6 separate regions of the Homo sapiens genome follow, and all the other regions are linked to region 1. The links are contacts of gene promoters, found by promoter capture Hi-C in blood cells and fetal thymus (Javierre and others, 2016). All regions are on one chromosome and are shown on one strand. Each heading gives the region's core, a stretch centred on a gene start or on the middle of the fragment in contact. The rest is flanking DNA. Distances are from core to core; before and after follow the strand shown. Region 1 holds the start of SIGLEC14 (sialic acid binding Ig like lectin 14). Region 2 holds the start of KLK13 (kallikrein related peptidase 13). Region 3 holds the start of KLK5 (kallikrein related peptidase 5). Region 4 has its middle 8.6 kb from the start of SIGLEC9. Region 5 holds the start of KLK8 (kallikrein related peptidase 8). Region 6 has its middle 6.0 kb from the start of CTU1.

The links. The method cuts DNA at HindIII sites, captures the fragments that hold promoters and counts their contacts. A CHiCAGO score of 5 or more calls a contact.
Region 2: a contact is called between the fragment with the promoter of KLK13 here and the fragment with the promoter of SIGLEC14 in region 1, in 2 of 17 cell types (activated CD4 T cells and fetal thymus). The highest score is 5.2, in activated CD4 T cells.
Region 3: the fragment with the promoter of KLK5 here is called in contact with the fragment with the promoter of SIGLEC14 in region 1 in 6 of 17 cell types (naive CD8 T cells, erythroblasts, total CD8 T cells and 3 more); the score reaches 8.5 in naive CD8 T cells.
Region 4: a contact is called between a fragment that was not itself captured here and the fragment with the promoter of SIGLEC14 in region 1, in 1 of 17 cell types (neutrophils). The highest score is 7.7, in neutrophils.
Region 5: a contact is called between the fragment with the promoter of KLK8 here and the fragment with the promoter of SIGLEC14 in region 1, in 1 of 17 cell types (total CD4 T cells). The highest score is 5.3, in total CD4 T cells.
Region 6: a fragment that was not itself captured here is called in contact with the fragment with the promoter of SIGLEC14 in region 1 in 1 of 17 cell types (neutrophils); the score reaches 10.3 in neutrophils.

What each region holds. Positions count from the first base shown.
Region 1 is chr19:51,643,947-51,648,074 of GRCh38, reverse strand. SIGLEC14 (sialic acid binding Ig like lectin 14) reads left to right here and starts at 1,250. Exons shown (of 7, transcript NM_001098612.3): 1 at 1,250-1,352; 2 at 1,435-1,818; 3 at 2,015-2,293; 4 at 2,545-2,598; 5 at 4,039-4,128. The coding sequence starts at 1,316. The HindIII fragment of the contact is 8,795 bases long and covers 1-4,128 here.
Region 2 is chr19:51,063,491-51,067,456 of GRCh38, reverse strand. KLK13 (kallikrein related peptidase 13) reads left to right here and starts at 2,365. Exons shown (of 5, transcript NM_015596.3): 1 at 2,365-2,441. The coding sequence starts at 2,390. The HindIII fragment of the contact is 5,030 bases long and covers 985-3,966 here.
Region 3 is chr19:50,950,381-50,954,297 of GRCh38, reverse strand. KLK5 (kallikrein related peptidase 5) reads left to right here and starts at 1,260. Exons shown (of 6, transcript NM_012427.5): 1 at 1,260-1,551; 2 at 1,630-1,713. The coding sequence starts at 1,641. All of the region lies in intron 1 of LOC105372442 (a long non-coding RNA gene), which reads right to left. The HindIII fragment of the contact is 21,591 bases long and covers 1-3,917 here.
Region 4 is chr19:51,131,566-51,135,358 of GRCh38, reverse strand. It overlaps a transcript of SIGLEC9 not described here. Among named protein-coding and RNA genes, the nearest start is that of SIGLEC9, 8.6 kb to the right of the region's middle. The HindIII fragment of the contact is 2,262 bases long and covers 753-3,014 here.
Region 5 is chr19:50,999,124-51,003,194 of GRCh38, reverse strand. It overlaps KLK8 (kallikrein related peptidase 8), which reads left to right and starts at 1,591. Exons shown (of 6, transcript NM_007196.4): 1 at 1,591-1,663; 2 at 2,020-2,097; 3 at 2,612-2,771; 4 at 2,937-3,199. The coding sequence starts at 2,028. It overlaps KLK9 (kallikrein related peptidase 9), which reads left to right. Exons shown (of 5, transcript NM_012315.2): 5 at 1-687. The coding sequence ends at 84. The HindIII fragment of the contact is 2,221 bases long and covers 1,055-3,275 here.
Region 6 is chr19:51,112,290-51,116,526 of GRCh38, reverse strand. No RefSeq gene overlaps it. Among named protein-coding and RNA genes, the nearest start is that of CTU1, 6.0 kb to the right of the region's middle. The HindIII fragment of the contact is 1,951 bases long and covers 1,880-3,830 here.

The DNA of each region.
Region 1 (4,128 bases), core at 1-2,500:
TGGAGTGCAGTGGTGCGATCTCGGCTCACTGCAAGCTCCACCTCCCGGGTTACGCCGTCCTCCTGCCTCAGCCCCCCCAGTAGCTGGGACTACAGGCGCCCGCCACCACGCCCGGCTAATTTTTTGTATTTTTAGTAGAGACGGGGTTTCACCATGTTAGCCAGGACGGTCTTGATCTCCTGACCTCGTGATCCACCCGCCTCGGTCTCCCAAAGTGCTGGGATTACAGGCGTGAGCCACTGCGCCCGGCCTTCTTTTTTTACTGTTCTTCGTGGAGCAGGGGTATGCATAAGCAGTGTGCCCAGAGGAGCCCCCACTAGGATTTTTGACTTACCTTCTCATCCTAAGAGTTTATCCTTTGCTGTATCTCCAGCTCCTAAAACAGGGGGCCTGGTGCACCATAGGCGCCCATGAAGCATCAGTTGAATGAGTGAATTCTCGGGGCCAGACACTGTCCTAAGCACTTTACACATGAGACCTCACTGAATCCCCACACAGCAATTCTATTATTGTCTGCATTTTTCAGCTGAGCAAACTGAGGCACAGAGAGGGTAGGTAACTTTTGTAAAGTTCAACAGCCGGTAGGTGAGGGGTCTGGGTTCACACTTGGTATTCCATATCCTCAACGTTCACATTTCAAATGCCCGGCTCTCAAGCCTCATCTGGCTGTCAACATCAGGGATGGGGTCTGACGCTGCCTGGGACAAGGACAAGGATGAGATGAGGTTCCCAAATCCAACTGGTGGTGGGGACCACATCTCTCTTGACTGCTAAGGACCCGGTCATGTCCACCTGATGTGTTTGTCCCTGACAACTTGCCTTCCCTCTGGAAAGAGGAAAGTCTTCCCCACCTGAAACCCCCAGCGTGTGCTTCCCTCACCACAGCTCCTATCATGTCATAAAGGATTTATTCTCCCATCTCGCTGAGGGTCCCGAGGCCCTGACTCCCAGGGAGCTGGCCAAGTGGTGTTCTCCTTCCTATGTAGACAAAGGTGCATAAGGAAAGTGCTGCAGCTATGGGACCTGGTGACCTCAGGAGTCTAGACTTACAAGTCTGGACAAGCCCCTCTGGGGGCCTCAGTATCTTCACCATCGGCGTCCAGTGGGGGTGGGAGCAGAATGGCTTCCCAGCCCCAGCCTCACCCCAACAGCACGTGATGCCCAAGTTCCCCTTCTGTGCGCGTCCACAGCTCTCACTCACCCTCCGGCTTCCTGTCGGGGCTTTCTCAGCCCCACCCCACGTTTGGACATTTGGAGCATTTCCTTCCCTGACAGCCGGACCTGGGACTGGGCTGGGGCCCTGGCGGATGGAGACATGCTGCCCCTGCTGCTGCTGCCCCTGCTGTGGGGGGGTGAGTGAGCTGAGGGAGGAGGGACAGGCACAGGGGTGAGAAGGGGGGCTGGAGCTGCAGCTGAGCTTCTGTGTCCCCCCAGGGTCCCTGCAGGAGAAGCCAGTGTACGAGCTGCAAGTGCAGAAGTCGGTGACGGTGCAGGAGGGCCTGTGCGTCCTTGTGCCCTGCTCCTTCTCTTACCCCTGGAGATCCTGGTATTCCTCTCCCCCACTCTACGTCTACTGGTTCCGGGACGGGGAGATCCCATACTACGCTGAGGTTGTGGCCACAAACAACCCAGACAGAAGAGTGAAGCCAGAGACCCAGGGCCGATTCCGCCTCCTTGGGGATGTCCAGAAGAAGAACTGCTCCCTGAGCATCGGAGATGCCAGAATGGAGGACACGGGAAGCTATTTCTTCCGCGTGGAGAGAGGAAGGGATGTAAAATATAGCTACCAACAGAATAAGCTGAACTTGGAGGTGACAGGTATGGCAGGAACCCTAGGAGAGGACCCTGGGACGTGGAGACCCCCGTATGAGAACAGGGACAGGAGTTGGGCAGGGGCGGCTGGAGGAGGTGTAGGACTTGGGGCAGGTCGGGGCCTGAGGCCTGGCCACTCTCGGGGTCACACCTTACGTCCTCAAGCCCCTGGGGCCCAGGTATCTCCCTGTCTCCTCCTCAGCCCTGATAGAGAAACCCGACATCCACTTTCTGGAGCCTCTGGAGTCCGGCCGCCCCACAAGGCTGAGCTGCAGCCTTCCAGGATCCTGTGAAGCGGGACCACCTCTCACATTCTCCTGGACGGGGAATGCCCTCAGCCCCCTGGACCCCGAGACCACCCGCTCCTCGGAGCTCACCCTCACCCCCAGGCCCGAGGACCATGGCACCAACCTCACCTGTCAGGTGAAACGCCAAGGAGCTCAGGTGACCACGGAGAGAACTGTCCAGCTCAATGTCTCCTGTGAGTGGTGCTGGGGACACAGCTGAGTCCCCAAGGGCAGTGGGAGTGAGGGGGGTGTGTGTGTGTGTGTGTGTGTGTGTGTAGAAGAGAGAGAGAGAAAGAGAATGATAACCAGGGAAAACTCGTGTGTGGGCAGGAAGGACAGCGGTCCCCACCTGGTGGGTTTCTGTGGCCCCTCCTTGGGTCCCTCCCGGGACCACGCCCATCCCTCTTGTCACCTCTGAAGCTGGTGCTGTATCTTTCTATCCCAGATGCTCCACAGAACCTCGCCATCAGCATCTTCTTCAGAAATGGCACAGGCACAGGTAGGAAAGACCCTCTTCCCTCTGGGGCTGTGATGGGAGCCTTCTATTAGCTCAGGGTTCAGCATTGGGAGAGGAGACCCTCCCTCACCCCTCAGCCCCTGGGTCTGGGTCCTTCCTGCTCCCAACCCCCCAATCCCAGTCACTAAGATCTTGCACGAACAGACCTAGTATTTCTTTTGGCTTCTCCCTTTTCTCTGCTCTCTTTTTCAGATTTATTTTTTCATTGTGAGAAAATACACATAGCACAAAATTTGTCATCTTAGCCATTTTAAAGAGTACAGTTCAGCAGTGTTAAATGTGTTCACATTGTTGCAAAACCAAACTGCAGAGCTCCTTTTATCTGGCAAAACTGAAACTTTGTACCCACTGAACAGCGACTTTCCACTTCCCCCTCCTGCCACCGAGCAGTCACCATTCTACTTTTCTGTCTCTGTGAGTTTGAGTACTCAGGACACGCTGTTCCCTTTTCTTGAATTTCTGCCTGCTCCGATGTCCTCTGATGCATGCCCTGCTTCATCTCTAACTGATCGTCCTTTTTGGGAGCCTTCGACTTTCCCACCTCCCACAGCTCTGTCCCAGAACCCAGTTCTTCCCCTCCACATTCCTGAGTAATCCGATCTCTCCTTGACCCTGTCCTGATGCCTCCCACAACTTTATATCCAGCCCTTTCTCTGAGGCACAGATCTGCACATTTAGCCACCTCCCTCGGATGCTTCTCGGCTCCTCCTTCCCTGTTGATCCCAGGGCTGTTCTGGACATCGCTGTAGACAGCACCCTTTCTCATCAGCTGTTTCATGAGTCCGCAAGTCTTAACACCTTTACTTCACCAATCATCACTTCCCTCCTCATCCCCTTGGTTCCAGGCCCAGCTCAAGTCTCGTGCTCAACCCTGGCCCATTGCCCCAGCCTCCTCCCAGCCTCCCTGCCTCCTATCCCACTTCTCTCCAGTCCGGGACCTACTTGGCTCCAGCAGGATCTTTCTAGATCCAGTGCTAACTCTGTTTCCCTTGCTTATAGCCCCCTCTTGCTTTCCAGGATAAAGCCCAAGGCCCTCAATCTGGCACCCAATGCTCCAAAAGATCTGAGCCTGCTTCTACCTCCATTATCGTGTCTTGGGAGCTCTGGGTCCTCCCTGACAGGTTGCGGATCTAGGAGCCTCTTTCCTCGTCTGCCTGTCTCAGTTCTTGGCACGTCTGCACCTGAGCTGCCCATCCACTTCTCCTTAATGTGAGAACTCCTCCTCATCTGTCTTTTCTCAGCTCAGCCACCTTCTTTCTGGTAGCCTGACCTGATCACCAAGTCCTCATCCTTTCACCCATGACTAGCCCATTCTCAGCACTCACCACACAGTCTTGTCTTTCTTCTTGCAGCTCAGTGGGAGGAATGAGGGAGAATTGGGCCTCCCAGCTCCACTCACCTGGCTGTGCTTCTCTTTCCCAGCCCTGCGGATCCTGAGCAATGGCATGTCGGTGCCCATCCAGGAGGGCCAGTCCCTGTTCCTCGCCTGCACAGTTGACAGCAACCCCCCTG
Region 2 (3,966 bases), core at 1,116-3,615, 580 kb after region 1:
TTCAGCCCCAACCCAACAGTACCCCAACACCAACTTATCCCTAGATACCTCCCATCTTACAATCTAATCCTATCCCAAAACCAGCTCAACTACCACCTCCAACTCTATACCCATCCTCATCCAATTTTCATTCACCTCCCCAAACTCATTGCATTCCTAATGTTGTCATCAGGCCCATCCTTAACCATAGACTCTACTGATTTCCTATATTAAGCCATATTTTTCTTCTTAGCAAAATACTTTGAAATGGACCCAACATTGGACACTGAGGTGTCGCCAATGCAAAGTTAGATGGGTTATCTGATTTTATGAGGTCTCTGTACCCTTTCCTGTCTTTGAGCCACTTTATGACTCTAAATTGTAGGTATCTGAGAGCAATGCAAATAATTCTTGTCCATAAATGTTTACATGAATTTTGCCAGGTGGAAGTACAATGGATTTCCCTCCTCCTCCCAGTGTGGAATAGCCAGTTTTGCATCTATTTGTAAATTCATTTCAGCATTCCTCGTTGTCTCTGTGCATATGGCTCTTTGTAACATCTTACTGGCTCTGCCATTTATTAATGAGTCAAGATACAATCTTTGACACATGTTCATTTCATATATGTCAGAGAGTCATGGTAAGACCATGTTTTAAAAGTTACCCTTTGACACTAGATTTGATCTCCACATCCAAATCTGAACTCCATCAATAAGGACTGTACAAGTTTCCATGTGAGCCCTCGCCCCATCCATCTCTATTCTTTATCCTCATTGTGACACCTCCACTCTCTCACTCTTTCCAAACTTCATCTGGTCCACGTCCCTGGCTTTCTTCCAAATTCTGACCCCACCTCAGTCCTTAATCCCTAATCCTGTCCCCTCCACCCCCTAGGATTAACTCAGGGCTCCACCCAGTCATAGTTCCTGGAGACACCTACTCATTCTCAAAACACCACCCCTTCCTCCTTCCTCTCCCCCACCCCCAATCCACGTCTTCAAAGCTTTCCGGCTCCTGCTTTTTCCTCTCCACCTAGGTCCCCGTGGACTCCCTCACCCCCTCTGGCCCTGCTCCTAAAAGGCCATTTCTGGAAAATGTTGCTTTCTCAGGTCGCATCTCTGCCCCCATCCAAGTCCGAGGGAGCTGATTTTCTATCCACCCAGCTGATGATTTCCTTCTTGTGTCCGGTGGTTGGCGGGAGCAGGGAGGCAGGATGATGGGATAATTGTGGGTGTCCTTGTGTCTTTCAAAAGAAAAAGGGTTGAGATGAGACTGGGAATTGGAACCTGGATGTGTTGAGAGCTAAACCTGAGATGAGGTTGGAGATGGGACTGGGGTTGAGGAACAGGCTGGAGTACTTGGTATGGTTAGGGATGGATAGGGAGGTGGGAATCTGATAGAACACGGCCATCTGGGGGCTGACTGCCTATTAAGAATTATGCATGGGGTTGGAGAAGAGGTTAGAAAACTGGGTGCAGAATGGGTTGAAGTTAGGGATGGGCATGGAACTCAGCGGGGTAGGGGGAAGGAAATGGGCTTTCCCCTTACCCTTTTTTGGGTCCTGAGGCCTGAAAGTTCACAGTGGGTTCAACTCTGCCTTGGGCGGGGTCAGACCTAGGTCCCAGCACGTCCTGGAAGCTCCGCCCCAAGCAGAGGGCCAAGCCCAGGTCGGGGGTGCCTGGAGACATCCCGCTGAGCCACTGGGGGTGGAGAGGGGGAGGCCAGGGACCAGGAAATGCTGAGTGAGCTGGGGGAGGGAGTTCAGGGGTTAAAAGCCATGGTTCGGGGCTGAAGTTCTAGACAGCTGGCGGCTGACGCTCCTCGTGGGCCCCTCACTCAGGTAGGGTCTGCCTGGGGCGGGGGCGGGGAGCGGAGGAGGGCAGGGAGGGGAGAGAAGAGGGGATAGGAAGGATGGGGAAAGCAGAAGGGCAGCTGAGTCAGGGAGAGGGAGAGTGAAGCTAGAGTCTCAGATCTAGAGAGAAACCTGCAGAGACGGAGAGAGGCGAAGGGCGCGGACAGATAAGAACTTGGGCTAATACCAAGCGTGTGGACAGACCCAGAGGGGTAGAATGGAAGGCAGACTCTGGAGGAAAAGGGCGAGAGTGCACCGACCACCCAGCTCGCCAGAGGGCAGGGGAGGAGGGACGGCTTCCTGGGGTGAGGGGCTGCACGCCGGAGCCCCAGGAGGTTGCACACTGTTCCTCCCACCTCGCCACTGCACCCCCACCAAGGATGGAATTGGAGGCGGGGGGCAGATTCCAGGGTCAGGGCTGTCAAGAGTGAATGAGGCGAGGAGACATTCAGGAGCAGAGAGGTTTCAGACGCGGAGGTTCCGGGCACGCCCTCAACACCCCCTTCACCTTCTCCTCAGGCCCCGCCCGCCCTGCCCTCCCCTCCCGATCCCGGAGCCATGTGGCCCCTGGCCCTAGTGATCGCCTCCCTGACCTTGGCCTTGTCAGGAGGTAAGAATGCGCGGGGGTGGAGGCGCGGCGGCCATTCGGGACAATGGTAGGAGGGGTCAGGCCGGAGGGGGAGGGGGCGTGGGAGCCGCGAGCTCCGCCCCCCGCCCACTCGGGGCCGGGTCCAGTGGGGACAGCTCAGAGCTCTTCCTGCTTGTCCCTGGGTGACCTGGTTTCCCGGCTGAGGTTGGCCCTCCGACCCCAGACCCTTCACCTCCCAAAATACCCTCGCAGCAGCCCCTCCCGCGTTCAAGGCTTCCTGTCCTCTCTGGAAAGCTGAAAGACATGGGTTCGCGTCCTGACGCTGCCGCTTTGAGCCAGTAGCCTAGCAGCTGCTTTGTGCCTAAATTGTTTTCATCTGGAAAATGGGCTTAATCTATAAGTGCTTACCAGAGAAGGTCACTGTGAATATTGAAACGAGGTAATGCGTCGAGCCTTCAGTATGTCGCAGGTAGAAGGGACTTGAAAGTTAGCCACTTAGCCGTTATTACTTTATTAGTAGTATTCCTTTTTTTTTTTTTTTTTTTTTTTGAGATGGAACCTTGCTCTGTCTCCCAGGCTGGAAGGCAGTGGCACGATCTTGGCTTACTGAAACCTCCGCCTCCCGGGTTGAAGCGATTCTCCTGCCTCAGCCTCCCGAGTAGCTGGGATTACAGGCGCCCGCCACCACGCCCAACTAATTTTTGTATTTTCAGCAGAGACGGGGTTTCGCCATGTTGGTTAGGCTGGTCTCGAACTTCTAACTTCAAGTAGCCCGCGTCAGCCTCCCAAAGTGCCAGGATTACAGGCATGAGCCACCGAGCCCGGCCTCTAGTATTCTGTCTTCATACTCAGCCCCTTCCAGAACCTTCTAGATTGTTATTTTAATCCTTGGGTTGACCCCAAACCTATGTGACCTCACCCCAAATTGGTAGTCCTTAAGATCCTTATGGATCTTTCCCATCTTTCCCTGCCGTTGTAGGCAGGTTCTCTGGAAACCCCGTTCATGAATCATTTATTCATTCAACAAACAGCTATTAAACACCGGCCACTGTGCTGGGTGCTGTACAAGCAGAGACACAGTCCCTGCTCTCAGCACCTGGAGTCTAGCGGGGACAGACGCAGATGTTATTCAAACAATTATCCAAATAATTAGTTAATAATTATCTTGACATGAGGTGAAGACTTCAAGGAGCCAAGCCAGGGGCCTAGAGATGTAATGGCGGCTTCCCGACCAGAGGCCTTCCCAAAGGGCTTGACCCTTGAGCCAAGACCTGAAAAAGGAGGGATCTGTGGGTGCCTGGCACCTGGCACCATCCTTGGCCTGAAGGTGGGGTGGCTTTTCTCCTCTGGCGACACTCCCTGGATTCATGCCCGTGCCACTCCTGAGTGCCACACCCTAGGCTAGGAGACCCACACGCTACGCCTTGTGGAGTCCTCAACAACCTGGCGAGGTAGGTGCATTGTAATTACTCCAATTTCATGGCAGAGAAACCTAGGACTCAAAGACAGAAGGCTCCTGCTCCAATGACACCGGCGATGCCTGAGT
Region 3 (3,917 bases), core at 11-2,510, 690 kb after region 1:
ATCTCCTGACCTCGTGATCCGCCCGCCTCGGCCTCCCAAAGTGCTGGGATTACAGGCGTGAGCCACCGCGCCCGGCCATGATCATCTTCTTGACTATGCTGATGTGACAAGTACCTAAAGCCATCAGACTCTACCCTTTAAATATGCAGTTTGGGCCAGGCACCGTGGCTCATGCCTGTAATTCCAGCACTTTGGGAGGCAGAGGTGGGTGAATCACTTGAGGCCAGGAGTTTGAGACCAGCCTGGCCAACATGGTGAAACTCTGTCTTTACTAAAAAAAAAAAAAAAAAAAAAAAAATCAGCCGGGTGTCGTGGGGCACACCTGTAATCCCAGCTATGCTGGAGGCTGAGGCACGAGAGTCACTTGAACCCTGGAGGCGGAGGTTGCAGTGGGCCGAGATCACATCACCGCCCTCCAGCCTGGGCGACAGAGCAAGACTCTGTCTCAAATAAATAAATAAACAAACGAACAAGCAGTTTGTTGTACCTTAGTTATATCTAAAAAAAAAATGCTGTCAACAAATAGAGCAGAAGTGAAATAAAGGAAAATAAATGGGCCAAGAACTCTAAGGTATATTTGACAAATCATTCAGAACCTTTAAAAAAGAAAGAATCACAGAGGCATAGAAAGACAGGGAGGAACAGGGAGACAGAAACACCTGTGGCCCAAGGAGAACAAAACAAGGCTCCTAAGACAGACAGGAGGAGAGAGAGAGAGAGTGAGTGAGAGACAGACAGAGAAAAAGACAGAGAGAGAGAGACAGAGACAGAGAGACAGAGAGGCGAGAGGGATAGAAAGAGAGAGAGGGGTGGAGAGAGACACGAGATATTGAGAGAGACTCAGAAAGATAGCCGAGGGAGAACCACAGAGAGATGGAAGAAGACTCTGAGAAAAAACCAGAGACAAAGATGGAAAGAGGAGTATCGAGGGTGAACAGACAGTGGTGGAATGAGCAAAATGCAGAGAAGAAAGCAAGCAATCCAGGCGCCAAGAATAGTGACCCAGAGTTGGTGAGAAGCCAGATCCTTAAGGCTGGGGGAGGCAGGGAAGGGGCTGGCCTGGCTTCCGGAGACCCCTCCCCATTCTCCGGGCCAGGGAGGTAGGGAGTGACATTCCGGACTGGGTGGGGGGTGCTCTGGGGGTGGAGATAGGGGGAGCAGGAGGAGCTATTGCTAAGGCCCGATAGGCACCTCATTGCCCGGGAATGTGCCCCAGGGAGCAGTGGGTGGTTATAACTCAGGCCCGGTGCCCAGAGCCCAGGAGGAGGCAGTGGCCAGGAAGGCACAGGCCTGAGAAGTCTGCGGCTGAGCTGGGAGCAAATCCCCCACCCCCTACCTGGGGGACAGGGCAAGTGAGACCTGGTGAGGGTGGCTCAGCAGGCAGGGAAGGAGAGGTGTCTGTGCGTCCTGCACCCACATCTTTCTCTGTCCCCTCCTTGCCCTGTCTGGAGGCTGCTAGACTCCTATCTTCTGAATTCTATAGTGCCTGGGTCTCAGCGCAGTGCCGATGGTGGCCCGTCCTTGTGGTTCCTCTCTACCTGGGGAAATAAGGTAGGGGAGGGAGGGGAAGTGGGTTAAGGGCTCCCCGGATCGCCTGGGCCTCCCAACCCTCTGACATTCCCCATCCAGGTGCAGCGGCCATGGCTACAGCAAGACCCCCCTGGATGTGGGTGCTCTGTGCTCTGATCACAGCCTTGCTTCTGGGGGTCACAGGTAACCAGAACTCTGGGGTGGGAGGGTTGTGGGATTGGGAGGACTGTCTCTGCGGCACTAGAGCGCCTGTCCCCTGGGGAACTGTGTGAGCCTGGGCATGACTCCGGGACCGGGTGAATGTGAGTCTCTGTCTGTACTTGTGGTTGTGCGATCGTATGTGGCCCTGTGACTGCCACGGTGTGTGTCGGGGAGGGGGATGCCTTTTCCCATATCAGGTGACTGTGCGGCAGGTGGCACTGACCCTTTGAGGCTGTGTGTGTGGTTTTGTGATTGTGTGTGCATTTAAGATTGTGTGTGGCTCCACAGCTGTGTGGGTGAATGCATGTAGCACTGGGGGTGTTCACTGTGTGTTTGGCTGTGTGTGGTGACTTGGCATTGTATATGACTGCAGGTATCTGCAGTTCCTGTCCCTGAGGTCCCGGGATTGCGTGCAACAAAAGTGGTCATCACCATGGAAAGCTGTGACTGTGTGCTGCTTGCAGGCGATTATGTGATTGTGGCTGAGTGTGACGTTATGGATGCCCGTATTTGTGACCGTGTGACTACCTGAAGCTCTGTGTAGGGGTGACTGTATGTGACTGTGTGTGTCTGTGTGAGGCCGTGTAAATGCTACTGTATGTGTGATGGTGCAGCTGTGTGTCTGGAGTTTCTGTCTCTGCCTGGAGGGATAGAGGGTGCAGGGGTAGCTATCTCTGGGAGATGGGTGCCAGGTGACTGACTTGCAGTGTGTGCCTGTGTGCAGAAGAGTATGTGGCAGTCTGAACATCTGTGCACACACGGCATCTGTGCGTGGCACTGAGACACTGTGGATGAGGGTGTGCGATCCCGCTAGGCTGCCCGGGAGCGTGTGTACCTGGAGACAGAGCTGTATGTTAGCTGCACCTGTGGAGGCAACATGGGCGTGTCTGCAGAACTGCGTGCGTGCTTGGCTGTTACTGCTGTTGTGCGCGTGGTTCTTGGGGTGAGTTCGTGAATGATGGTGGTGCCAGGGCCATCAGCAAGGGTAAGAACCAGGCCGGGCGCGGTGGCTCACGCCTGTAATCCCAGCCCTTTGGGAGGCCGAGGCAGGCGGATCACCTGAGGTCGGGAGATCGAGGCCAGCCTGACCAACATGGAGAACCCCGTCTCTACTAAAAATACAAAAAATTAGCTGGTGTGGTGGCGCGTGCCTGTAATCCCAGCTACTCGGGAGACTGGGGCAGAAAAATCGCTTGAACCCGGGAGGTGGAGGTTGCGGTGAGCCGAGATCGCGCCATTGCACTCCAGCCTGGGCAACAAGAGCGAAACTCCGTCTCGAAAGAAAAAAAGAAAAAAAAAAGGGTAAGAACCAGTGAATGGGCACGGGAGGACTGATGATGGAGTGGGGCATGCATGTAGTCTGTAGGTCTGTGTGTGAGAGGAGGAGATTGACAGGATTGAGAAGGCATGTTTTCATCTGAGAATTCAGAAACCTAGGCCTGCTCTTCCCCTCCATGTGGCCCCCTAAGCTGAGCCCTTCTTTCCTGGTCCTGCTTTCGGAACCCTAGCTCCGCCCATGAGCTCTGACCCCACCTCCTTTCCTCAACCACGCCCCTAGGCCAGACTCTAGTGGACCCCGCCTAAGGCCACACCCCTTTGGGCCAGGCTCCACCCCCTATTCTGTGGGTACCTTCTAGAACCCCCTTCAAAGTCAGAGCTTTTTTTTTTTTTTTTTTGGAGACAGTCTTGCTCTCTCTCCCAGGCTGGAGTGCAGTGGCGTGATCTCGGCTCACTGCAACCTCTGCCTCCCAGGTTCAAGTGATTCTCGTGCCTCCACCTCCTGAGTAGCTGGGATTACAGGTGCGCGCCACCACGCCTGGCTAATTTTTGTGTCTTTAGTAGAGACAGGGTTTCACCTTGTTGGCCAGGCTGGTCTCAAACTCCCAACCTCAGGTGATCCGCCCACCTCGGCCTCCCAGAGTGCTGGGGTTACAGGCGTGAGCCACCGCCCCCAGCCCAAAGTCAGAGCTCTTTATAGGAGACTCTAACATGTAACCCTGACCCTGGCCCTAACTAAGTCAATTCCAAACCCCTTCCTGCCTCCAGCCCTGACCCCACTCACTGAGGCCTGACCCCACTTCTTGAGACCAGTTCCATCCCTAAAGCCCTGGTCTCCCTCCCATCCCCAGGCTCCAGCCCCCACAGCTTTGGCACTACCCCTGAGCTTGTCCAGGAATCCTGTACCC
Region 4 (3,793 bases), core at 634-3,133, 510 kb after region 1:
TTTCATACCCTGCCAAACTAAGCTTCATAAACGAAGGATAAATAAAATCCCTTTCAGACAAACAAAAACTGAAAAAAATTCATTACCACCGGACCTGACTTATAAGAGGTCCTTAAGTGAGTGCCAAACACAGAAGTGAAAGAATGTTACATGACACCACAGAAAGTGGTGTTAAGTGGTTAAGTGTATAACCCACTGACATTATGAAGCAACTATACAATCACGTCTACATAACAACCAGCTAACAACATAATGACAGGATCAAATTCTCACATCTCAATATTGACATATCAATAATGCTTTCGCTGGCTGTCCCTTTTGCATAGAGTCCAGCATGAGACGCAGAGGAGACTGGGATGCTTAATGTAGCCAGATGGGGCTGATGTAGCTCCTGAGTTAAAAATACATCTTTCTTTGGGACAGAAGGAACCACGTAATTTACTCTAGTCCAGTTTGGTCCTAGCATCCAGGAAAGTAAAGATGCAATGTACCAGAATACCCATATCAAAAAGTTAGAAAGATCCCAAATTAGCAACTTAACATTACACCTAGAGGAATTAGAAAAACAAGAGCAAGTCAACCCCAAAGCTAGCAGAATAAAACAAATAACCAAAATCAGAGCTGAAATGAATAAAATTGAGATACGAAAATTCCTACAAAAGATCAGTATACCCCAAAGTTGGTTCTTTGAAAGAACAAATAAGATTGATAGATCACTAGCTAGTCTAATAAAAAAGAGGGAACCAAAAGCTTTCATCATTTAAGAGTTTTTAATTTCTCTTTCATGAAAGGTAAATTTACATACAGTAAAATACATAGATTTTATTTGCGTGATTCAATGTGTTTTGATTCATAACCACATAATTACTATCCCAGTTAAGACATAGACTATTCCTAGGACTGGCTGGGCGCAGTGGCTCACGCCTGTAATCCCAGCACTTTGGGATGCAGAGGTGGTTGGATCACAGGGTCAAGAGATCAAGACCATCCTGGCCAACATGGTGGTCTTGGCCAACATGGTGGTCATCTCTATTAAAAATACAAAAATTAGCTGGGCATGGTGGCCCGTGCCTGTAATCCCAGCTACTCAGGAGGCTGAGGCAGGAGAATCGCTTGAACCCTGGAGGCGGAGGTTGCAGTGAGCCACTGCACTCCAGCCCGGCAACAGAGCTAGACTCCTTCTCAAAAAAAAAAAAAAAAAAAAAAAAAAAGAAAAGAAAGAAATAAAATTCCCAGGACCCCAGAAAGTTCCCCTGTGTGCCATTCACGTTAATCCCCAAATCCCACTCCCAACCTGAGGCAGTCACTGTTATGAATTTCTGTCTTTGTAGATTAGTTTGGCCTGTTCTTGAACTTCATATAAGTGAAACTACAGAGCATGTATTCTTTTGCATCTGGCTTCTTTGACTCAAGATGTTTTCAAAATTTATTCAAGCTATTGCATGTATTATATATTGTTATTATATATTGATGAGTATTATGCCGTTACATGGAAACATGTAATCAATTTTAAATATTAATTACTTAGATTTTTATATTATTTTCTCACTAAATGTAGGACATTTCAAGTGCTCAGTAGCCACATGTGGCTAGTGGTTACCATATCAAACAGCACAGTTGTACAAACATTATAGTCTCCGCTTTTACTTTTAGGTTTATGATTCGCTTCAGGCTAATTTTTTGCGTGTGATGTGAGAAACAGCTCAACACTCGTTTTTACCAACCCTAATTTCACTTGTTCCGCTAACATTTATTTTTTATTTATTTATTTATTTTCAAGATGGGGTCTCACTCTGTCGCCAGGCTGGAGTACAGTGGCACAATCTTGGCTCACTGCAACCTCTGCCTCCTGGGTTCAAGCAATTCTGCTTCAGCCTCCCTAGTACCTGGGATTACAGTTGCCTGCCACCACACCCAGCTAATTTTTTTTTTTTTTTTTTGTATTTTTGGTAGAGATGGTGTTTCACCATGTTATCCAGGCTGGTCTTGAACTCCTGACCTCAAGTGATCCACCCACCTCAGCCTCCCAAAGTGCTGGGATTACAGGTGTGAGCCACCGCGCCCGACCACCTACCAACATTTATTAAAAGTCTTTCCTGTCCCAATTGAATAGACTTGATGCTATTCAGTTGACTGTATATGTGTGGGTCCATTTGTAGACTGTACTCTAGTCCACACCACACTCTCTGTATTACTCTAGTGTTAAAGTCTGCCTTCTCTAAATGTGTTTCTTATCACAATGATTTGGTTATTCTAGGTTTTTATGTGTTTATATAAATTTCAGAACCAACTTATCAATTTATAACTATATATGTATATATATAAACTTATATTTACAATATACATACATATACACTCATCTATACTTATGTACATACATATACACATATACATATATTTTATATATATATAGGAATTTTGACAGGGATTACCTAAATCAATATGCAGACAACTGACATTTTAACCATTTTTGCCTTCTAATCCATGAACGTGATATATTTCTTCCTTCATTTGGGCCTTCCTTAAGTCTCTCAAAAATGTTCTATATTCATCAGTACAGAAGCATTCCGTGTTATCTTAGTTCATTTGTGTTGCTATAGAGTAATATCTGAGGCTGGGTAATTTATAAAGAAAAGAGGTTTATACAGCTTGTAGCTGCAGTGAACGCCAAGAATGAAGCACTCAGACAATTCCAGCTGAGCGGGATGCGGCGGCAGCAGCATCTCTGAAAGAGTGCCGCCCCAGAATCCGTCCGCCAAGTGTTTCTCGAAAGGGTTTGTTAAACCAAAATGTCCACCAGATGGCCTTTTGCGGTCGGGTCATGAGACACATATGGCCTGGTAAAAACACTCAGACTACAGTCTCAGGAGGCTGCTTTCCGCGCTCCTTATCACACATTCCGTTCCTTGCCCTGTTTTCAGGGTCAAGGAGTTTCAATCTCATGCACAAACAACACGCACACGGTGCCTCAGTATTTTTCCATGCCTCGACCTCAAATGCCTTGTACATAAGCTTGAATATGTTGCCGTGCACCCCCCACAGTTTATTTGGCTCACAGTTCTGCACCACATAGAAAATGCTTGGCACCAGCCTTTGCTTCTGGTGAGGGTCTCAGGAAGCTTCCACTCATGGTGGAAGGCAAAAGGAAGTCTGCATGTGCAGACAATACGGCAAGAGAGGAAGCACGGGCTGGGGAGGGGAGGTGCCAATGTCTTTTTAACACCCAGCTCTTGGAGAAACTCTCACAGGAAGTAACAGAGTGAGAACTCTCTCATTACCTTGAAGACAGCACCAAGCCATTCATGAGGGATCCAATCCCGGGACCTGAACACCTCCCATTTGGCCCCACCGCCAACACTGGGCATCAAATATCAACAGGAGGCTTGGCAGGGCCAAACAAACCATATCCAAACCATAGCATAGGATTTTTTTTTTTTTTTTTTGACACAGACTCTTGCTCTGTCGCCCAGGCTAGAGTGCAATGGCACAATCTCAGCTCACTGCAACCTCCGCCTCCCGGGTTCAAGCAATTCTCCTGCCTCAGCCTCCCAAGTAGCAAGGACTACAGGCATACGCCACCTCGCCTGGCTAATTTTTGTATTTTTAGTAGACATGGGGTTTCACCATGTTGGCCAGGCTGGTCTTGAACCCCTGACCTGAAGTGATTTGCCCTCCTCAGCCTCCCAAAGTGTTGGGATGACAGGCGTGAGCCACCACGCCCAGCTCGGATATGATTTTTTACTTATTTATTTATTTATTTATTTATTTTTTTTGAGACGGAGTCTCGCTCTGT
Region 5 (4,071 bases), core at 342-2,841, 650 kb after region 1:
CCCTGCTCCAGACCCCGGCGCCCCGCAGTCTACACCAGCGTATGCCACTACCTTGACTGGATCCAAGAAATCATGGAGAACTGAGCCCGCGCGCCACGGGGGCACCTTGGAAGACCAAGAGAGGCCGAAGGGCACGGGGTAGGGGGTTCTCGTAGGGTCCCAGCCTCAATGGTTCCCGCCCTGGACCTCCAGCTGCCCTGACTCCCCTCTGGACACTAAGACTCCGCCCCTGAGGCTCCGCCCCCTCACGAGGTCAAGCAAGACACAGTCGCGCCCCCTCGGAACGGAGCAGGGACACGCCCTTCAGAGCCCGTCTCTATGACGTCACCGACAGCCATCACCTCCTTCTTGGAACAGCACAGCCTGTGGCTCCGCCCCAAGGAACCACTTACACAAAATAGCTCCGCCCCTCGGAACTTTGCCCAGTGGGACTTCCCCTCGGGACTCCACCCCTTGTGGCCCCGCCTCCTTCACCAGAGATCTCGCCCCTCGTGATGTCAGGGGCGCAGTAGCTCCGCCCACGTGGAGCTCGGGCGGTGTAGAGCTCAGCCCCTTGTGGCCCCGTCCTGGGCGTGTGCTGGGTTTGAATCCTGGCGGAGACCTGGGGGGAAATTGAGGGAGGGTCTGGATACCTTTAGAGCCAATGCAACGGATGATTTTTCAGTAAACGCGGGAAACCTCACCTTCTTTCTGCCTGAGCTGTGAGATGAGTGGAGAGCAAACGGGTGGGCGGTGAAGGGCAGATGAGGGAACCGGTACCGCCTTGCAACTCCCCCTTAAACCCCTAGTAAGTTTTGCCTAAAGTCTCTGTCCATCAGCCCTATTGCAGCAAGACTCCTGGGTTCTGCTTGGGTTGGTCTTGCCGCCTCCAGGGGAAGGGGAAACCAGGTCACAGTGCCTCCCAAACCTGCCCTCCCAGATCCCGGACCTCTCAGGGGACAGCGGGCGGGGCCTGATCCACCCTCTGGTTTCTGACCCTAGAAGACCTGCCTTTCTTCGGTTCCCGGTTACTGGCAGCAGCCCCCTCCTCCCACAAAAGATCAGGTTCCAAGCTTCTCCTTTTAAAAGTACTTAGAATTCAGCCCCCAGCTCTCTCCTCCCTCACACCCAGGAATCCAGGCCCCTAGCCCCTCCTCCCTCAGACCCAGGAGTCCTGGCCCCTAGCAGCCCCCTCCTCCCTCAGACCCAGGAGTCTGGGCCCCCAGCCCCTCCTCGGTCAGACCTAAATCCCAGGTCCCAGTCCCTCCTCCCTTAGATTTAGGAGTCCAGGCCCCCAGCCTCTCCTCCCTCAGACCCAGGAATCCAGGCCCCCAGCCTCCTCCCCTCTCAGAACTAAAATCTTGGCCCCCAGCCCTTTATGTTTCAGATCGTAGAGTCTCAGCACCGAGTCCCTCCTCTCCCTAGCCTCAGGAGTCTGAGATTCCAGCCCCTCCTCCCTCAAGATTTCACGTTCAATCCCCTCCGCCCCTTCTCACTCACACCCAGTGTTCCAGTTCCCAGAAGCTCCCCAGGCTCTAGTGCAGGAGGAGAAGGAGGAGGAGCAGGAGGTGGAGATTCCCAGTTAAAAGGCTCCAGAATCGTGTACCAGGCAGAGAACTGAAGTACTGGGGCCTCCTCCACTGGGTCCGAATCAGTAGGTGACCCCGCCCCTGGATTCTGGAAGGTGAGGTGCAGAGGTACTCAGATACAGACATCAGGCCCCGGACCCTCCTTCTCCAGATTCCAGGACCCCAGCCTCAGATGCCCTTCTCTGTCGAGATCCAGCAGTCTGGACCCCGGCTTCCTCCTCTCCCTAATTTAGGAGTCCCAGCTCCCAGCTCCCTGTCCCCTCAGACCCAGACATCGAGGACTCCCCCCTCCCTTGGAATGTAGGAATCCAGTCCCCCAGCCTCCTCCTTCCTCCAGAGAAGCCCAGAACAGCCCCAGATACTCTCGGCTGCCTCCCCAGTGCCCAAATCCAGAACTGGGAGCTCAGGCTCCTCCTTCCTGTTTACCGGCCCCGCCCTCTCCATTTCCCAGACCTCACCATGGGACGCCCCCGACCTCGTGCGGCCAAGACGTGGATGTTCCTGCTCTTGCTGGGGGGAGCCTGGGCAGGTGAGGAGGGTTGCGGAGGCCTCCGGAGGGGAGGGATCTGAAGGCAGCAGTGGCGCTGGGGAGTCTGTGGGAATGCCGCGGGGGTTATGTGGGTGCGTGTGCACGGATGTGAAGAGTGCGATACGGTGCAGGAGCCTCTGTGGGCTTTCCTCAGGGTGGACAGAGGCAAGAAACAGGTAGCAGCAGGTAGGAGTAGGTTCCGTGATGCTGTAAATTGTCTGAATAGCTACAGCCTTTGGGGGCTGCTTGCTTGGGGGCATAGATTCACCTGGGAGTACTCGGGGCCTGTAGACTCATGTGGAAGCATGTGGGGGCATTCTTGGGTGTGTGACTCTTGTATGATGACACATGGACTGAAATGAGTGTCCCCGTGTGGCAGCGTGTGGAAGCCTGGACCTCCTCACTAAGTTGTATGCGGAGAACTTGCCGTGTGTCCATTTGAACCCACAGTGGCCTTCCCAGCCCTCGCACTGCCCCAGAGGGTGGCGATCCAACCCTCTCCCTCCTGCTGCAGGACACTCCAGGGCACAGGAGGACAAGGTGCTGGGGGGTCATGAGTGCCAACCCCATTCGCAGCCTTGGCAGGCGGCCTTGTTCCAGGGCCAGCAACTACTCTGTGGCGGTGTCCTTGTAGGTGGCAACTGGGTCCTTACAGCTGCCCACTGTAAAAAACCGTGAGTGGATGATGGGGGCAGAGGTCAGCTGGGGCTTAAGGAAAGAGGGGGCTGGGGTTTCGACTCAGGAAGGAGAGAGCTGAGGACTGGACTCCTGGGTCTGAAGGAGGAGGGGGCTGGGGGCAATACCCCTGCCTGGGTCCCAAACTATCCCCACCATTACAGGAAATACACAGTACGCCTGGGAGACCACAGCCTACAGAATAAAGATGGCCCAGAGCAAGAAATACCTGTGGTTCAGTCCATCCCACACCCCTGCTACAACAGCAGCGATGTGGAGGACCACAACCATGATCTGATGCTTCTTCAACTGCGTGACCAGGCATCCCTGGGGTCCAAAGTGAAGCCCATCAGCCTGGCAGATCATTGCACCCAGCCTGGCCAGAAGTGCACCGTCTCAGGCTGGGGCACTGTCACCAGTCCCCGAGGTAGTGGGCTTGTCCACTAATGGGAGGGAGAGGAGGAGCTGGTTGGCCCAGTGGAACCCAAGCTATTGGCAAAGCTTGGTCCCCCAGAGGGAGACAAAGAAGGGAAAGTGATCATGATGTTGAGATTCACAAGCAGGAGTCATATGAGAAGCCTCGAAGATCTGACTACTAACAAGAGTGGTGAGAGAAAGAACCAACTAGCAGATTGTTAAGCAGGGCCAGAAAAGCCCATCCTGTATGGCGGAGAGCACTACCCTATGGGACCTTTGGTTGTATAGGATTTTATATAATCTTAACACACTTGGGATATTTGGACTTCTCAGAGGCCCAGGAAAACAGGCTCCTAAGCACCTTCTCCCCCACCTCCCTCCTTTTTTTTTTTTTTTTTTTTTTTTTTTTTTTTTTTTTTTTTGCAGGGGGACACAGTTTCACTCAATCGCCCAGGCTGGAGTGCAGTGGCACAATCTCAGCTCACTACAATCTCTGCCTCCTGGGTTTAAGCGATTCTCGAACCTCAGCCTCCCGAGTAGCTGGGATTACAGGCACCCGCCACCACGCGAGCTAATTTTTGTATTTGTTGTAGAGACAGGGTTTCGCCATGTTGACCAGGCTGGTCTCGAACTCCTGACCTCAAGTGATCTGCCCGCCTCGGCCTACCAAAGTGCTGGGATTACAAGCATGAGCCACCGCCCCTGGCCTTTTTCTCCTTCTTGAACCCAGGAAACCTGGGCCCTGGTCACCTCTTCCCTCAGACCCGGGAGTCTAGGCCCTTCTTCTCCCAGGACCCAGCAGTCCTAGCTCCCTCTTGACTCTGGACCCCAAAATCTGGACCTCCAATGAAGCTGTCCCTTTGGGACTCCAGAATCCAGAGA
Region 6 (4,237 bases), core at 1,606-4,105, 530 kb after region 1:
ATGGTTTTTAAATGAAGGTTTGTGGGCAAAAGCCTGACTGTGGTGGAATGAGAGCTTCTCCTGTCAAATCTCATCTTTCCCATCATATGAGCCTCGAATCCACCTCTGATGTGGGTGGGCAGCGACCCCATTTCCAACCAGCCCCGAAGAAGGAAGATTCTTACCTGTGCTGTTTCCTTGAAAGGCAATGATGTCTAGAAGACTGGAGTGTCTCAGCCGGGCGCAGTGGCTCACGCCTGTAATCCCAGCAATTTGGGAGGCCGAGGCAGGTGGATCACGAGGTCAGGAGATCGAGACCATCCTGGCTAACACAGTGAAACCCCGTCTCTACTAAAAATACAAAAACAAAATTAGCCGGATGTGGTGGCAGGTGCCTGTAGTCCCAGCTACTCAGGAGGCTGAGGCAGGAGAATGGCATGAACCCGAGAGACAGGGCTTGCAGCGAGCAGAGATGGCGCCACTGTACTCCAGCCTGAGTGACAGAGCAAGACTCCGTCACAAACAAACAACAACAACAAAACTGGAGTGTCTGGTACAGAAATAGAACAGTTCCCACATCGGTGTAGGAGGTGAAGTGGGGTGGTGGCCCTGCATCCTTCTACAGTCACCAAAACAGCAAAGAAGGCGGGTTGAGGAATTCCTCCTGTCCCCTCCTCAGTCTGGTCCCCAGGAACCAGGCGCTAAGTATCCCAAGTCCTGAACCCTCCTTGGACCCCGTGTTGGGCACAGGGACTGGGAATCCTGGCTCCCCCACCCACCCTGCTGCACCACCACAGGAGACATTGGGCTGGTGATCACGTGAGCTTCAGAAGACATCACACATCAGGGTAGTTGAGGTGACATCCCTAGGATTGTAGGGTGAGGACCTAGAAATGTGTATCTGCCCCGATCCTTTATGTGCTGTGATATAGTGAACTCTCTCCTCCCTCCAACCTTATCTTGAAAGAATTTTTCTGGGATGCAGATAAAGGAGGGGCCACACACAAAGTCATAGCTGTCCCCCCAAGACAGGGTGGACCTGGTAAGCCCCGGGCAGCAGGGATGGTGCTGTCCGTCCGTGGAACTGCAGCACCATCAGCTCCTGAGTTCAGGTATTACCCGGCTCTGCAGAGGGGTCTGACCCCACGAGCATGAAACCTAAGCCTCGAGCCAAAAGGGCAGCCATATAACATGGGCTGGTGGGAAGGTCTGGCTTGCCCAAGAGAAAAGGATTTGGGGAGCAACAGATTCTGTCATCAGTAGGCCGAGCTTCTCTTATGTTCTTCCTCTCTGCTTCCCAGTTCATCCTCAGGGACTCTGCTGGATGTCCTGTTGTTCCTGTTCACTTAAGGATAATGAGACTATAGGAAAAACTATAGGGGGAAAAAATGGGCCTAAGACTGAAGATCCTAATGGGGACCTGAAGGGACAATGATTCCAGGAGAGCATTGAGCCATATGGAGAGAGATTGAGAACTGGAGTGACAGGGACTCAGAGGAGGGGCCGCCAGTTTTTAGAACTAATACTTACAATAGTAAGGTCAGGTGTTGTGGCTCATGCCTGTAATCCTAGCACTTTGAGAGGGCAAGCCAGGCGGATCACCTGAGGTCAGGAGTTCGAGACTAGCCTGGCCAACATGGTAAAACCCCGTCTCTATTAAAAATACAAAAATCAGCTGGGTGTGGTGGCGGGCGCCTGTAATCCCAGCTACTCAGGAGGCTGAGGCAGGAGAATCGCTTGAACCCAGGAGGCAGAGGTTGCAGTGAGCTGAGATGGTACCATTGCACTCCAGCCTGGGCAACAAGAGTGAAACTCCATCTCAAAAAAAAGAAAAGTTTGACTTCTGTTAGACAGGAGAAAGTGCAATAGATTTATAGTGCCTGACCAAGAAAAGGAAGCTTTATTTAGCTATCATGTCCCTTTCTTCCAGTCATCTCATTTTGCAACTTCTTCAAACAAAGCATGAAGAGAGAAAGCAAAGAATAGTGAAATGTGAGTACTGGGGTTTCTCTGTTCACCACATCCTCCTGGTTTTCTGACTGGAAACCAGTCAAAATGGTCCAGACTTACTGACTAAGACGTCGATCACAAGTGATGGAATCTTTGTGTATGCTGGTAAAAGAGAATTTGATGAGAGGATTTTGCAGTTTCCCACATCATCTAAGAAGAGTAGGGCAGCCTGTTGGGAAGGACAGATCTCCATGAGCCTCCCGTCCTCCTACACATCTCGTTGGGTATTGCCCAAAACATGATGGTCTGAGATCTCGTTACCTGGCCTAGTTCTCAGGTTGTGTTTGCAGGGAGCCACCCTGAGGGATGGGGTAATGTCTCCCTCCAGGACAAAGAGTAGCCTCACTTGCTGCTGGCTGTAAAGGAGCTAGATTCTCCAACTTGCCAGTTTTGTTTCTCGGGGTCCTATCAAACTGAGACAGAGGTTTCTCTGAGCCTTATCCTATATCAACAATATTTACCAAGTCACTCTAGGAGTCAGAACAAACCCAATTTCTGTCCCTATGGGCTCACCATCTAGCACAGTGGAGAGCATTGAAAATGCCTTCACAGACAACGGGGCCATTAGGAGGGTGCTGGGGTCAGAACAAAGACCTGGGCTACAGGCAGAGATTTCACAAGTAACAGCTTTATTTTTTAATTTTTGAATACATATATTGAGAGTTTATTATATGTCAGGTATGATTCTTGTTGAACAAAATAGACAAAAATGTCTTCACCTATTACTACATGTTAGATGGAGACTTGCCCTGGGAATGAGGAGTGAGGAGCATTTTCCAGGGCCCCAGAGCTGAGCACAAACAGATAAAGGGGAAGGGCAAGACTGGCAGGCCTGTTTCTCCCCTCTTAAGGATTGGGCTACCAGGTGACAAATGTTCAGAGACGTCCAAATGTGGGGCAGGTAGTCAGCTAAATGACCCCAGAGGTAGGTATCAAGGCATGATGACTCTGGAAGAATAGTTGCAAGCCGTATCTTGCAGGCTTACATATCAAAAAAAGTCTTGACTTTATATTGAGGGCACTGGGGAGCCATGGAAGGATTAAGAGCAAGGGGGAGGGGCAGAGTCAGCTCTTGGTGGGAGAAGGTATCCCTCTGGGGTGATGTGAGGGAGACTTTAGGGAGAGGAGGAGAGTGGAGGCCAAGAAGTTGGAGAGGAAAACAGAGTGGAGGTCTGAGCAGAAGAGGAAGAGGATGAAATGACTAGGAGCAGAGGCCATGGGGATGTTGAAGGGGGAGTGAAGTGAGCCTATTCCAGGAAGGGAAGTTTGCAAGACATCTTGCAAACAGGATATGGTAGGTGATAGAGAAATATCTATCTGACTCCTAGAATCCTAATTTGGATAATGATGATGGTTCCATCACTGAGAAGGGGGGAAATGTGGTTGTCTGGGGCTCAGAGCAGATTGGGATGAACAGCATGGTGTGCAAGACATCGGGGGGAGCCACGAGAAGTGCAGAGAGAAGAGAGGGTGCGAGGAGGAGCTGTGGAAACTCACATAAAAGGCTCCTGGGATGAGGAGAACGAGAGACAAGGCCAAAGAGAAACAGAGGGCCCTTCAGAGAGTGTTGCCAACAGAGAGTCTTTCCTGGTGCCTCCTCTGGCCAACAAAGTTTATTAGCACTGCTGTGGGAACCCAGGCAGACCTACCATTTAGTAAGGAGATGCAAAAACTAACAAGAAGGCAGTGGGACAGAGCTGGACTTAGGGCAAAATAAGGACTGTTTGATACACTACAATGAAAACAGACAAACCAACCAACCACAGACAAAAATCCCGTTCCTCAGTAGGCTCCACGGGTGAACGAACTCTCTTCATGCAGAAATTCTACCCAGGGAAGCTTCTAGCCCTTCGAGGGGTGGGGAAGCAAGTGCTGCCAGTAACAAGCACCAGATATAGGAAATGGCCCTCAGAGATGCACATTGATGCTGCAGGAACCAAAGCTCCCAGAGCTGGAGAGAGACAGCTGAGCCCAGCCACCATATCTTCCACCAGACGCGGATTGCTTAGGATGGCAGCTAGATGACCTGGAGATGGCAAGGCATTCTGAGGCTGGAAGGGTGTGCAGGGACCAGATCATGCAGCACCTCCGTTGCAGTCTGCAGAGGTTTGACAATGGAAAGCCTGATGGCAATGGGGAGCCATGGAAGAGTTTCGAGAAGGGGAGAGACAAGGTTAAATCTGGGGCTAGTGTGGGAGGATTCAGGAATGAAGGGATTAGAGGTTGGGGTGAGAGAGTCCAGGCAAGA